Linked DNA regions of Homo sapiens: region 2 is linked to region 1. Evidence: promoter capture Hi-C in 16 types of primary human blood cells and fetal thymus (Javierre and others, 2016). All regions are on one chromosome and are shown on one strand. The core of a region is centred on a gene start or on the middle of the fragment in contact, and the rest is flanking DNA. Distances in the headings are between cores, read along the strand shown.

The links. Contacts are between HindIII fragments. The CHiCAGO score rates a contact against its expected background, and 5 or more counts as called.
Region 2: a contact is called between a fragment that was not itself captured here and the fragment with the promoter of MEGF9 in region 1, in 4 of 17 cell types (non-activated CD4 T cells, activated CD4 T cells, erythroblasts and 1 more). The highest score is 5.4, in non-activated CD4 T cells.

The regions. Positions count from the first base shown.
Region 1 is chr9:120,712,518-120,715,759 of GRCh38, forward strand. It overlaps MEGF9 (multiple EGF like domains 9), which reads right to left and starts at 1,953. Exons shown (of 6, transcript NM_001080497.3): 1 at 1,241-1,953. The coding sequence starts at 1,841. RefSeq lists a silencer at 1,641-2,490. The HindIII fragment of the contact is 2,825 bases long and covers 1-2,688 here.
Region 2 is chr9:120,978,073-120,981,012 of GRCh38, forward strand. C5 (complement C5) reads right to left here. Exons shown (of 41, transcript NM_001735.3): 28 at 2,011-2,182. Among named protein-coding and RNA genes, the nearest start is that of C5-OT1, 27 kb to the left of the region's middle. The HindIII fragment of the contact is 677 bases long and covers 1,344-2,020 here.

The DNA.
Region 1 (3,242 bases), core at 703-3,202:
GGTAAAACCCAGCTAGCTAATGCATTCCTTGAAGCTGGAAGAGATGCACACTTGGCTTTTTATGGGTGAATAATCCTACTTATGTCATTGCCAAGCTCCAACCCAAGGATCAAGACTGTATTAAGGTTCATAACCATGTGGGAAAATTCTCTACACACTCAATTATAGTCCAAAGTCCATACCTGACTCCACAGTAAATCACTAAGCCTAAGATTTAGGTCAGAGACCCAGCTAGACAAAGGATTTGGACAAACCTCCACCCCAACTCAAAGCAAGACAATTCAGAAACTTTTGTCCAAACGTTCTGACAAAGTAGGCTTTTGTTTTGTTTTGTTTTAGTCCTAGGCCCACTTAAGATTTAAACGGGGAAAGAATACGAGTTGTCTTTAACTTTGCTTGAAGACTTCAGCAAGAAAAGCCTTTTCTACGTGGGCTCAAACAGAAATTGGCATATATCAGCATCAGCAAAGTTGAACATCCTGGCTTAAGGAGACAAAAATAGGCATCCTTGCTTAAATGGTGTATTTGGCCAAACATGTTGACCTTATAATTGTGGAAGAAAAAAATGGTGCGAGGAAGAGATTTAACCTAATTTGTAAATGTGCTCAGCCTAGATACACACCTGTCCCAAATGACCTACTGAATCCACTTATTTGCAGGGACAACATGGATTACAATGCCTTTTTTGTTTTTATTTTTTGCCCTCAAGTGGTCCATACTACTGTTTGTAAACAAAATCCTCTCACTACCTCTCTTCCACCTGTCATACACACACATCTGATATTTACATAAACAAGAAGAAATGAACAGGGAAACTGGAGCTTTGGGAGGAATTCCTTACCCTCAGCTTTTGACCCAGTGGTTGAAGGAGGTACTATGCGGGCTTTCAAACTTCCCCAAATAACCCAGGCAGAGAGGCTGGGTGCGCGAACCCAACCCAAAAGTTTGCGCCCATTCTGGTCTCTGAAAAAGGCCAGAAAGCCCTGTTGGGAAGAAGATGAGATGCCTTCCACCCAGCAGCCACCCCCTCCCGAGGGAGCACAGCCCACGGGGGACAAAAGACTTTCCAGATTGATCGGGGGCGGGAGGGAGACTAGCTGGACCTGGGATCCCCCCTCGGGAGCCGGAACCTGGGGTGTCTTTGGGGTAACAAACGATAAATTATAGGCAAGAGCCCAACCCTAGATTGCCGGGGCTGAGGTGAGGACGGGTCCTGCCCGAGAGGGAGCGCCGGACTCACCTGGAGGAGGCGAAGAGGGGGCCTCGGTGGCAGGTGGGGTGGGGAGGACGCTGCTGTTGCTGCTGCTGGGGAGATCGGGGGTCGGGGTCCGGGGAGTCGTGGGCGCCGGTACGGTGGTCGCTACAGGGGTGGTCGGCGCCGGGCCAGTGGTCGTCGAAAGGGTGGTCGGCGCGGGTCTGGTCGGCGCCTGAGAGGTGGTCGAAGTGCGTTCCGCCGCCGGAGGGGTGGTCGGCGAGGGGCCGAGCGGCGCCTGAAAGGTGGTGGAAGAGGGTCCAGCAGTCGCCCAAAGAGGGGTGGTCTCCGGGGACTGGGCTGGAGAAGTCGCAGCCAGGGGTCGGTGGACGGTGGCGCGCGGGGGCCCGGTCCTCGGGGCCTGGGCCGTGGGAGCCGTCGCCCTAGGGAAGGGGTGGCTGGGCTCGCCCCGCAACCCGGGGCCCGGCGACGCGTCCACCTGCCCCGCGGCCCCGCCGCCACCGGTGACATTCCCCGCCGAGGCGGCTGAGGCGACGGCGGCGGCGGCGGCGGCGGCGGCGCAGCACAACAGGGCGAGGCCGCCCAGGCTCGGCAGGCTCCTCATGGCGCGCTCGGCTCCGCCATTCATTCATTCAGCCAGTCGGTTGGTCAGTCATCTTCTCCTCGTTGCAATCCGACCAAGGAAGCCTCCGCAACCGCCGCCGCCACCGCCACCGGGCGCACCATCGCCACCTCCCTCTGACAGGCGGCCGGCCCCGCGGGCGGGCCCCAGCGCGGAGGGAGCGACCGGACCGAGCGCGGACCGCCCGCCCTCCTCGATTGGCAGCCGCGCCTAACCAATGGGAAGCCACAGTCGCCCACGTGATCCGCCCGCTTCCCGGCCTCTTTGTAGCCCCGTAGGCCAATCAGAGGACGTCCAGGAGAGGGGGCGGTCCGTGAGGCGGGAGAAGGGTGGTGCGAGCCCAGCTCTAGCCCGCCGGGCTCGCGGCGGCCCCGGCTTTGTCTGCCCAAAGAGTGGGGCGCGGGCCTCGGGCACCGGGCGCCGCGGAGCAGACAAAGGATGCGCCCCGCGCGGCAGACGCCGGGCCTAGTCATCTGCTCCACCGGGCTGCGAGCACGAGCGGGGGGTGGAATCAGCACTCGGGAGCATCCCCGCCCTCCTGAACAATGGGGCGCCAGCGCCGCACCCCAGCTCGGGCGGGGACCGCGCGGGAACCCCGCGATGGGAGAGGGCAGCGGCAGCGACGATGTAGAGCTTGGCATGCCCTCTGCTGCTCCAGAGAGCCTGGTCGCAGCCTTGCGAGGTCTCTGCCGCCATTCCCATTTCAGAGATGGGGAAGCTGAGGCCCTTGCTGAGGGCCTCCCTGAACCGAGACCCACGCCCTCACCAGAAACCTGCTGTGGGCCAGGTGTTGTGCCAGACTGGACAAGGGGGCGGGACCGGGCGGTGGAGACCCCTGAGGGCAGAAGGTGCAAGCTTCCTGCGTGGAGGAGACAGGCTCGCAAGCACACTTACCTAAACCCCGGGAAGAATAGGATCAGACAGGGTTGAACCTCAACTTGATGTCTTTTGCTGAATGGTTTTGTGGCCTGAGCGCGGTTTTTTCACCACTAAAATGGAGATGATAGGACACCCCTCACCCCCCACCCCCCTCACAGAGCTGTTGTGAGAATTAAGTCATGGACGTAAAGGGCTTAGCCCAGAGCCTGGCCCACTGTTGTAACCCTCATTAATGCTAACTATTCTCAGCATTTGCGCCAGGGCAAGCCCAGGATTAGAAAGCAGCCCCAGGCCACAGCCCTTCAGTGCCCCCAGAGCCTCCGGCTGGTTGCAGGGGTTGGGGTGGGGCTAATAGCCGAGCTTGACCCTGGATGACACTAAACCCTGAATCAAGCTGGAATTCGGGCACGCAGCCTCGCATCATCCGCCCAGGATCCAGAGCTAGGTCAGGCGCTGCTGCTTCGGCTCAGCAGCTTCCAGAGGAAGCCAGGCAGGGCGGGTTTGTCATCTGATGGGGCTTAATTCAAG
Region 2 (2,940 bases), core at 432-2,931, 270 kb after region 1:
GGAAATTATGAGATTAAACCTAAAGCCTTAGTTCAGTCTTTCATTATTTCTTTCCAATTTAAAGCACTCAAGACAATTTCGTACATGCAGCACTTTTCATAAATTAGGCTGTAAATTATATTTGTTATTTAAACCTGTAAACCTCAAATCCTTTTTGGAACAAACTATTTGTTTTAAAAAAAGTAATGCATATTTGGAAATCATATTTGAAGGTTAGTAAAAATTTTGATGTGTATGTTTATAATTCATAACTACATTATTTGCATGACCTTGAAAATGATATTGACCCTTCCTCTCAGAGTCTCAGATTTGCTGTATTTAAAATGAAGAGTTGAGTTTAGGATTTTAAAGAAACCCAACTGGAACAACTCTTGGATTATTAAGTTCCCTTCTAGATCTTAAATTTTATGATTTTATGACCCATATCTCACAATACCCAAGACATTTCTTTTGTGTTATTTTTGAAGTATCGTACAAGTGGTTTTGAGGCATATGTTAAAATATAGTAATTTTAAAATGATGGCACAAATCATATTTTGTAGATGGTCATAAACCTCAGTAAGATTTATAAAGCCTTAGCTAGAAGAGGACTCCAAAGTGCCCAACCATGCTAATAATCACTGCTACTCTCTTTCTATTTTTTGTCTCTTGACCTATAGGAAGCAGTATCTTTATTCTTCAAAACCAAACACATACTTTTATAGCAAACCTGGTAAAATATAAGCCAGGTCATGCACTCCTTTGCTCAAAATCCCCCAGTGGCTCCCCTTTTCACTCTCAAAGCTGAAATTAAAGTTCTAGGGCTCCTTCTGGTCCCCACAGCACATTGCTGTGGATAAGACATGGGCACTCCTTGCTCTAGGTGGAAGCAGCCCTAAACTAGGGTATGTGGCCGGGGGAGTGGAGCACAGGCTAGATTTCAGCCTCGATTCACTTGATTGCTTAGGTACTTTGTCCACGGCACAACTGTTTACAGAAGCCCTGAAGAGTCTCTCTAATGCCTTAAATGACCTTCCCTTGCTCCCTCACTTTTTCCTTACCTGACCTCACTTCCTACTCCTCTTCTCACTCCTCTGCAGTCACACTGGCCTCCTTGCCATTCTTGGAGCACCAGGCATGCCCATGCCTCAGGGCATTTGCACGTGCTGTTCTCCACCAGGTACTTCCTTCTAGATAGCCACAGGAATTGCTTCTTCACCTCCTTTCAGCTCTTGACTCAAACACCATCCTCTTAGTGAAACTTAAGCCCAGTCAGCTTGTCTAAAATTACAATGCATCCTCTCACCTTATTTTCTTTCCCTGCTCTATTTTTCTTCATATCAGCCATCACCATCTATTCATAAAGCTTTATTTATTTATCATGTTTGTGTCTCCCCAGTTAGAATTTAAGTTTCATGATGGCCTGGATTTTGGGGAGCCTGTTTTGTTTATTCCTTTATTCCCAGAGACTGGAATAGTGCCAGGTATATAGGGGGTGTCCAGGGTGTACATAGGATACTCAATGCATATTTATTGAATAAAGGAATAAATAGAGGACAGGTGTGGTGGCTCATGCCTGTGATCCTAGCACTTTGGAAGGCTGAGGCAGTAGGAGTGCTTGAGCCCAGGCATTTGAGATCATCCGGGGAAACACAGTGAGACTCGTATCTGCAAAATATAAAAAAAAGTAACTGGGTTCAGTGGTGGGCACCTGTAGTCCCAGCTACTGAGGTGGGAAGATCACTTGAGCCCAGGAGATCGAGGCTGCAGTGAGCCACGATCATGCCACTGCACTCCAGCCTGGGTGACAGAGCGAGAACCTGTCTTAAAAAAAAGAATAAATATTTGCTGAATGAATGCATGAATAAATGAATGAATAACGGCACACATTACATCGTATTGTGACGGTTTGTTCCTTGAGGACAGGAATTGCATCTTACTCAAGTTCACATGTCACCACCCACTTCCCAGACTAGCAGACTTTATGTCTTAGTGAACACTCACTGAATACATGTATGGAACAAGTTATACCTTTAACCAAAGCTTCTCTCTTCAAAGCTGAAACAATTGAACGAAACTGTGGGTGAGTTTTATCTCCCAGGGAAAGAGCATACGCAGAAATGGCCAATGTAAAGGTGCTCTGGGCTGGCAGTGTATTTTCAAGCAGAAAGTTGTCAGCTTTAATTAGAGCTGTGTCGATTTTCTGGAAACAAGAGAAGATACTTCAGTTTCTATGTCAAGCAACCACCTATCAATTGATATGAACTACCCTCAGATCCCACTATCCTGGAGCAAGCAATATGGGGGTGAAAAGAGGACTGACCTAATGGAAATGGATGGCTTCTCAGTGAAGCAAATCCCTCCGAGAGAAGGAGCAGAGCATAATCTTGGAAGGGACAATGAGGTTGTCCAAATCAGGTTAAGCTTTTTGCCTCTGAATTCTCACTTTCCTTTTAGAGGTTTTGTGCCTTTAGTTTCTGAGTACACCGTCAGACCTAGCCTCCAGGAAGAAAAGGCACCGAGCATAGACACAATTTCTTTTTTTTTCTTTTTTTTTGAGACGGAGTCTCGCTCTGTCGCCCAGGCTGGAGTGCAGTGCTGCGATCTCGGCTCACTGCAAGCTCCGCCTCCCAGGTTCACGCCATTCTCCTGCCTCAGCCTCCGGAGTAGCTGGGACTACAGGCGCCCCGCCACCACGCCCGGCTAATTTTTTTTTTTTGTATTTTTGGTAGAGACGGGGTTTCACCGTGTTCGCCAGGATGGTCTCAATCTCCTGACCTTGTGATCCGCCCGCCTCGGCCTCCCAAGTGCTGGGATTACAGGCGTGAGCCACTGCACCCGGCCCATAGACACAACTTTTATTGTTCCCTCTCAGCGTAGTTGCAACAGGCACACAGGTTCAAAAGGAGTTACACTTAAAAAAATAAATAAATAAAACAATAAGTAGCAGAAAGAAACCCT